3 separate regions of the Homo sapiens genome follow, and regions 2 and 3 are each linked to region 1. The links are contacts of gene promoters, found by promoter capture Hi-C in blood cells and fetal thymus (Javierre and others, 2016). All regions are on one chromosome and are shown on one strand. Each heading gives the region's core, a stretch centred on a gene start or on the middle of the fragment in contact. The rest is flanking DNA. Distances are from core to core; before and after follow the strand shown.

Evidence for each region. Contacts are between HindIII fragments. The CHiCAGO score rates a contact against its expected background, and 5 or more counts as called.
Region 2: a contact is called between a fragment that was not itself captured here and the fragment with the promoter of SLC43A1 in region 1, in 1 of 17 cell types (neutrophils). The highest score is 5.5, in neutrophils.
Region 3: a fragment that was not itself captured here is called in contact with the fragment with the promoter of SLC43A1 in region 1 in 1 of 17 cell types (neutrophils); the score reaches 7.2 in neutrophils.

Annotation. Positions count from the first base shown.
Region 1 is chr11:57,514,252-57,516,951 of GRCh38, forward strand. It overlaps SLC43A1 (solute carrier family 43 member 1), which reads right to left and starts at 1,451. Exons shown (of 15, transcript NM_003627.6): 1 at 1,193-1,451. RefSeq lists an enhancer at 1,605-1,674. The HindIII fragment of the contact is 5,778 bases long and covers 1-2,700 here.
Region 2 is chr11:57,778,714-57,781,413 of GRCh38, forward strand. All of the region lies in intron 1 of CTNND1 (catenin delta 1), which reads left to right. The region is part of intron 2 of TMX2-CTNND1 (TMX2-CTNND1 readthrough (NMD candidate)); the gene reads left to right. Among named protein-coding and RNA genes, the nearest start is that of CTNND1, 18 kb to the left of the region's middle. RefSeq lists a silencer at 1-48 and enhancers at 4-890, 891-1,776. The HindIII fragment of the contact is 2,296 bases long and covers 299-2,594 here.
Region 3 is chr11:57,821,752-57,824,451 of GRCh38, forward strand. No RefSeq gene overlaps it. Among named protein-coding and RNA genes, the nearest start is that of CTNND1, 61 kb to the left of the region's middle. The HindIII fragment of the contact is 771 bases long and covers 996-1,766 here.

The DNA.
Region 1 (2,700 bases), core at 201-2,700:
CCTGGGCTTCCCAGCCGGTGCCAAGGAGCTGGCTCCGCGCGCACTAGCAGTGCCAGAGGTGCACGCGGCACGGGGCTCCCGCTGAGCCACTATCGGAAACAAGGAAGGTCCTGTCTGCGCGCTGCAGCTTCCTAGCAGGCTGCCGGGTTCTCTCACCCAGGCCAGGGCGCTCAGGGCCGGGCTGCTGGGGAGAAAGTCCGCATCTGCCCAGGTCCCCAGAGGACAGCAAGGGGCAGAGCGCGCTCTGAAGCACCGCGGGCCCATGTCCGGACTCTCGCGCCAGGAAAGACCCCTAGAAGCTGGCAGGAAGAAGGGCAAGTTCAAGGCTACCCTACGACCCCATCTTCCAGTTGCCCCTCCAAGACCTCTCCTTCCCTCTGGGGCCGGGCGACAGCAAGCCCTCCCCCTTTCCGTATCAGGTGACCCACGACCCTACAGTCTCTCGGGCCAAGCCAACAGCTGCCACGTGGAGGGAGACCCAGGACGGGCTCTCCTCGGTTCCCTCCTCCCCCGCGCGCCCCTCACTCACTCCGCAGGGCTCGGGGCACCAGGCTTTGCACCTCGGAACCCGCTTGCCCCCCTCCAGCCCCGGGAGGGGGCTCGGACTTCGGCAGGAAGTCTGGCGGCTGCTGACTTTATAAGGGCAGCGGTGGCGGATGGGCTGGCGGGCGGGTGTGTTTACCAAAGGGAGGGAAAGAGCCCCAGCTCCCCCCGCCGCGGCCGCTGCAGCCTCGGCGGGAGGAGAGGGAACGCGGGCGGCGCGGGGGCGGGGAGCGACAACTGGGATGAGACCGAGGAAAGCGGAGAGGAGAAGGGCAAGAAAGACCCAGAGAGAGGGGAGGAAGTACCAGTCACTTCTTCCAGGGGGACTCGGTATTCTCATCTGTGAAACGGGGCTTTGGGTTCAAGCGCTCCAGGAGGTCCGCTGGAACTCTGGCAAACGCGCAGCTCTAAGCAGAGGAAGTGCAGCGAGCGGGGACCCGGGAGGAAGAGAAGAGTCGGAGGGGTCAGAGAAAAGAAAAGGGAAGGACGCGCTTGGCGAGATGGGACACTGTGCCGCGGGACCGCGGGCGCAAGTAACGGTCTTTCCTTGGGAAGCCTGGCAGTGTCGGCGGGAGCCGGCCTCGGTGTCTCTCAGCCGACGCATAGCCGGAGACCCTACGCGCGCCCCCTCCCCGCCCACGCTGCTCACCTCCGGTCACCGGCAAATGAGCAGCCAGCAGCTGCGGACGCCTCCGGGAGCGCAACGCTTTCGCGGCGCGTCCGGAGTCCCGTGGGCCCAGCCCTGAGCCGCGCCGGCGCTGGGGTCTTCTCTGCGTGCAGGACCCGGCGGCCACGGAGCTTCAGCCTGACAGCCCGGTGGCCTCGCCTCCGCTGTCTCCTCGGAAGAAGCGGGGGAACTGGGAACCCGCCGGGCGCCAGAGGTCTGCGAAGCTGGGCTTGGATGAAGTGGATCTGCGGAGTTGATAGTTGTATTTACACGCGTCCGGAGCTGCGCCCCGAGGTGGGGGCGGGGGCTCCCTTCTTTTCCCCTCCCCTTAGGTCGAGTTTCACGCGCACGTGACTCGCCCGCTGGTCCCGGACACTCTCCCTCTGGCACAGCCCCAGCACCTACATTTCCACCCTGGACCCCCATCTTCTCCCCCAAGCCCCCAGACTAACATCAGGCAGCGCCCTCTGTATCCTTGTTCAAAACAAAGTGCGATTCGGCTGAAGCCGACTGACCGCGATTCAGGGCCGCCTTGGGTGGGGTTTTGAACTGTGCAGCTGGAAGCAGTGTTTTCCGAGAGGCAGAGTGGCACGGGTTTCTTTGGAGTTAGTCAGATCGAGGTCTGAGTCTTGACTTTTTAACTGACTACCCTGGGTTACCTAGGGCAAGTTACCTCTCTGAGCCTCAGCTTCCTCCTCTTTAAATTCGGTTAAAATGGAACCTACCTAACTGCCCAAAGGAATCGCGATTGTGATGCAGGTAAAATGCTAAGCATAGCATTTGGCATAGTAAGCATAATGTTAATTGTTGCTGCTGTCATTATTTCAGAAGACCTGGTGATCGGATGCTTCCAGATCAACAATTGATTGACTCCAGGTAAATCTCTCAGCCTCCCTGAGCCTCAGTATCCTCATCTGTAAAATAGACTACTATGGTGTGGAGTAATGAGAAGTAATCTCATTACATGTGAGTTTAATTGTGTGTTAAGAGTGCTGCTAATGCATGCTGAGCTTAATACCTAGGTGATGGGTTGATAGGTGCAATAAACCACCACGGCATACATTTACCTACGTAACAAACCTGCACATTCTGCACATGTACCCCAGAACTTAAAATAAAAATAAAATTTTTTTAAAAAAAGAGTGATACTGGTGGCCAGGTGTGGTGGTTCATGCCTGTAATCCCAGAACTTTGGGAGGCCAAGGCAGGAGGATCGCTTGAGCTCAGGAGTTCGAGACCAACCTGGACAACATGGTGAAACCCCGTCTCTACAAAAAAGAAAAAAAAATAGCCAGGCATGGTGGTGTGCACCTGCAGTCTCAGCTACCCAGCAGGCTGAAGTGGGAGGATCACTGAGCTGGAGAGATGGAGGCTGCAGTGAGCCAAGATCATGCCACTACACTCCAGCCTGGGTGACAGAGTAAGACTCTGTCTCAAAAACAAAACAAGAATGACTACAGAAAGCTCCAAGAAGGCCTCAGATAAAAGGG
Region 2 (2,700 bases), core at 197-2,696, 260 kb after region 1:
TTGTATTTGTTTGTTTCTGGGAGACTGTGGTCTGGTGCTACTGTGACAGGAAGTGAGAAAGCTGGGAGTGGGGGAACAGAGAGGGTCGATGTCTTTGTGGTTCTCCTGTGAAATCTCTTTGTCCCTGGAGAGCAGCTCTGCTACAGAGCTCTGCTGAGAAGAGAGCAGCCTTTGTGTGTCTAATGGGTCTCGGAGCATCTAGCTACTCCGAGGGATTAGAGAGTGTGAATTCTGACTGTGGCCTTTTGCGTTTTAGCACTTAAGTTATATAAATGGTCCTGATCTCTTAGCACTGGGAAGCTTACTGAGTTTTGTGTGTGCTGCTATTCTTTGTGGATCTCTAGGATTTAATTAAGAAAGGAATTCTAGAAGGAAATAAATGTTAAGTAATGTTCATTTGCTGTATATGTTGCAGGTACCTTGTTGGGTTTAAAAGGGACAGAAGGAAACAGGTAATGCTGAGGTCCTTTACATTTTATATCTCATCCTTCCAATTGGCACCCTACTGCATACAGATCAGGAGAAACCTACCCGCTTAGTATTAAGAGTTACTAGCAATTCTCTAATGTTTGATCATAACTAGAGAATGGTTGGTAGTTTCCTGGGATTTTTCTTCCCTATGTCTAGACTGAAATAGCACCTGTAATACCCTCTCTCTTTTCTGCCCTCTTTTCTCTCTTGTTTTGTGTTTTCCCTGCCTTCCATTCCAGCTGTGAAACAGGCATCTTTTCTCACTTTGTGGATTGGATGGCTGAGTCCTTAACTTTGAGCCAAGCTGGCTGGTTCCTGAGCACACACACAAACCCGCCTTTGATTGTCCAGGAGGACAGCTGCCCTAGAGGCAGATTGCTAACATACCACTAGAACAATCCTTCTTCTCTGTTCTTATGCTGGCTAGCACAATCTTTACTGCCTCTAGTTCCTTCTGTTTCCCACCCCATCTCTGATCTTTGCTTTTGGCTTAGTGAGATGTCACATTAAAAATGAGAGTAGGGATTGGATTTTTTTTCTTGTGGTAGGGTTGAGGGGGTGATCAGAGAATGTGACATGTAGCCAGCTTTCTAGAGCAGGCTTGCCAGTGGTAAGGTAGGTAATTTTTACAGAGTAGTGCCTCTTTTGTTCTTAGCACCTTTCCTCCTGAGTACTAGGTTCTTATAAAAGGGAAGGTAAATCTGAAGTAGGCTGCAAGCTACTCTTCCCAAATTGAGTAAGGTTTTGTTCTTTAAAGTGAAGATAAGACCCAAAAGTCTAGCTGGCTCCATTCCACCTTCTCTTGCCTCCTTCCCCTCTCCGTAAAAAAAATGTCAACTTTGGGTTAACTTCTTAATTGGAACTAGAATGACTTTTTTTTTTTTTTTGAGACAGGGTCTTACTCTGTCACTGAGGCTGGAGTACAGTGGCACAATCTTGGCTGACTGCAGCCTGGAACCACCAGGCTCAAGTGATCCTCCCACCTCAGCCTCCCGAGTAGCTGGAACTACAGGCACATGCCACCACCCCCAGCTAATTTTTTGTATTTTTTGTAGAGATGGTGTCTTGCCATTTTGCCCAGGCTGGTCTCAAACTCCTGAGCTCAAGCAGTCTGCCTGCCTCAGCCTCCCAAAGTGCTGGGATTACAGGCTTGAACCACCTCTCCTGGCCCGAAGAATGACTTTTAACCCCAGGAAACATAGAAAATTCATACTCTTTCCACTTTATCAAGAAGGAGCATGGACTTGGAATAAAATAGGAGTTTTCACTACTTACTACTAGTTGATGAGCTTGGGCAAGATACTAAATACTTCTGGTATATAGGTAGTATACTTATTTATAAAAAGAGGCCATTACCTCAGCAGGTGTTGAAAGGATTATATGATAACTTCAAGGGGAAGAGCAATAATGCACAACTTTCTTCCCCTTCAAGATGGGATTTTCTTCTTTCAGATAAGGAGAAACATTTCCTCCTGCTATCTGTCCTAAAGCCAAGAAAGGACCTTAACACTTCTGATTGATTTATTTATAGATTGACATGCTCTGTCTCCCTGTTGCTTATCTCAAAAGGAAGACATACTCCAAACTTGATGAAAAGAATGCCTTATTGGTCTTTTCAGGGTTTTGAGGAATTGGGACTGTGTAAATCTGGCTCAATTACATGCTTCCACCTTTTCCAAGTTATTTTCAAATGATGGGCAAAGAGGTGGGGGAATGCCATAGATTGAAAGTTTGGTGAGAAGCTGCTATTTTCTTTCTTTCTTTCTTTTTCAAGATGGAGTTTCACTCTTATTGCCCAGGCTGGAGTGCAATGGCGCAATCTCTGCTCACTGCAACCTCCACCTCCTGGGTTCAAGCGATTCTCCTGCCTCAGCCTCCCGGGTAGCTAGGATTACAGGCATCTGCCACCACGCCAGGCTAATTTTTGTATTTTCAGCAGAGACAGCGTTTCACCATGTTGACCAGGCTAGTCTCAAACTCCTGACCTGGTGATCCACCCGCCTCAGCCTCCCAAAGTGCTGGGATTACAGGCGTGAGCAACCGCACCTGGCCGAGAAGCTGCTATTTTAAAAAAGGAATGTGAGCTCAAACAGTTGGGTGACCCCTAGTAAACTCTAAGGTTAAGCTTTTCCATGAATATTTTTTTTTTCCGAGTCTAGGGTATGGAAGGATATAAGGTGTCTTAGTTAATTTTAGGATTTCTCTTTTATGACATGAGACCTAATCAAT
Region 3 (2,700 bases), core at 131-2,630, 310 kb after region 1:
CATTTATGCCTGAGGAAAAAGAAATATGGGATATTTGTGGTGATGTTCCAGTCAATTACCCAATTTTTGTCTTCACCTCAATTCTTTTTTTTTTTTTTTTTGAGGTGAAGTTTCGCTCTTGTTGCCCAGGCTGGAGTGCAATGGCATAATCTTGGCTCACTGCAACCTCCGCCTCTTAGGTTCAAGCAATTCTCCTGCCTCAGCCTCTGGAGTAGCTGGGATTACAGGCATGCGCCACCACGCCTGGCTAATTTTGTATTTGTAGTAGAGACGGGGTTTCTTCAGGTTGGTCAGGTTGGTCTTGAACTCCCAACCTCAGGTGATCTGCCTGCCTCGGCCTCCCAAAGTGTAGTGATTACAGGCGTGAGCCACCATGCCTGGCTCACCTCAATTCTTCTTTTCCTTCCACCTTAAAGGCAGGCTTAGCTTTGGTCTTACAGTTCACGCGTTGGCAGAATCGGGGCAGGGGGAGTGCGTTGGTGTGCGTATTTGAAACTAATTCAGGGCTCTGTTTTTGGCAGTATGCTGGATTAGATAATTCTGAAAAGTCCTTTCAGCAGAAGCAACCAAGATACTGGGTAAATATATTTATAAAAAATACTTTTAAACATATTGCTGAGCAGGCACGAAAGTAAGGAACCTACGGCTCTTCAAAATGAAGCAAAAGCTGGAATCCTAGGAAGTAACTGCCAAAGCCAGCTTTTCCTCAGAATTTTTGCCAAATTCAGCAGACCATAACCTTCTATTTTAGTGATTACACAAAGTATGGGCAACAGGAAATGAGAAATCTAGTAGGTTCCCTCATAAAGCTGGACACCCTCAGTGTAAAGGTGAACAAGAAATAAACACTCCATAGAAGGGCGCAGCAAGGAACTCATTTGTCTCAACCTTAGTGGCACATGGAAACTATAGAATATTTTCCCTGATGATTTATAACCACAAATGGCCTTCTATGGGCTTTCAGTCCAAACTTAGGCTACCTGTGTGGTCCAAAAAGCTTAACTGGGGAATTTAAAGTGGTACTCATTTGTTTATGCTTCCAGGTGATTTTCAGAAGCAAATGCAATTCCTCTAAGGCCTCAGAACAATTCCCATAGATATACTTTCAAGGCAAATGAGTGCTCTTGCCCAAAAATTATAAACTGAACAAAGAAATAAGGCACAATGAGTGAAAAGACAGACACAGAAGCTGATCTTTTAAATACTTCAGATGTTGGCATTGTTGCACAGACTATAATGAAATAACGATTAATGAACTTTTTGAATTAGTGGAAAAACCTTTTTGAATTAGAAGTGAAAAATACAAATTTGAGGTAAGAAGTCAATGCATGGATTAAATAGATTAGACAAATTGAAGGAGGATTTGTGAATTGGAAGATAAGAAATTATACAGAATGCACTCCAGATAGAGAATGGAAAATAGGCAAGAGGTTGAGACAACAATGGAATAAGATCTAATAAACATTATTTGGAACATCAGGAGATAGGAGGAGGCAATATTCAAAGAGAAATTTTTTAGGGTTGGATGAAAGGCACCAAACCTCAGACTTAGGGAGCCCAGTGAATCTCAAGCAAGATAAACCAACTTACCTAGTACATCAGGGTGAGATGCAGAAAACCAAAGAAAAGATTGTGGGCATCTGGAGAGAAAATACAGACTACCTGTAGAAAACCAGCCAGATGGTGACTTCTGTGTCAACAATGAAAGCCAGGAAACAGTGAAATTTATCTTCATCATGTTAAGAGAAAAAGGAACTTATTATGAAAGCTTACCTGAGGTGACACTTTTTAAAAAGCTACTAAAAACATTTTCCGACAAAAGCAGAGTTTCCACTTACAAAAGGATGTCCTTGAGGTGGAAGGAAAATGATCTCAGATGGAGAATCAGATGCAAGAAGGAACACTGAACGAAATTGCTAAAGCCTTCACTGTAAGAGGAGTGTGTAATTTATGGGAGAGAAATACAGACTAGAATTAAAATGCTGGACAACAATAGCATGTAAAGTTGAGGGAGCAATTACAACACTAATTTTCGGGTTCTTCAGGAGGAAAGTAAAGATACTGATAAGACTTGAAAAACTAAATAGATTGGTACAGAAGTAATTGCATTGAAATGGCAAAAACTGCAATGACTTTTGCACCAACCTAATACATATTAGCTGGAATAACCACTAAAGAATGAATATAGGACATATAACTTCCAAACAAGTAGAGAGGGAAGAAAGCAAAAGGAGTATGGGCAAGGTTAGTACTGGTGCTGCATCTGATGGAACAAGCTGAGCCTGCAGGGCAGTGGTGGTAGGTAGTGGTGAAGCCCCCACCTTTATATCACAGCACTGGGTATAGCGTGTGGCAAGTTAAGTAGATGTGTGCAGCAAAGAGCAGAGTGAAGAACAAGAATAGGGACAAAGGGAATAGCTCCAAGACAATTTCTATAAAAGCAAAGTTAAAAATTGGCTGGTAAGTGAGTTGGTCAGCCTGGCTTAAAGACACAGTCAGTACAAATGCTTTCATATTTTGCTGATGAAATTGCAAAGTCTTCTGTAATCCCAGCACTTTGGCAGGCCGAGGTGGGCGGATCACGAGGTCAGGAGATCGAGACCATCCTGGCTAATGCAGTGAAACCCCATCTCTACTAAAAATACAAAAAATTAGCTGGGCGTGGTGGTGGGCGCCTGTAGTCCCAGCTACTCGGGAGGC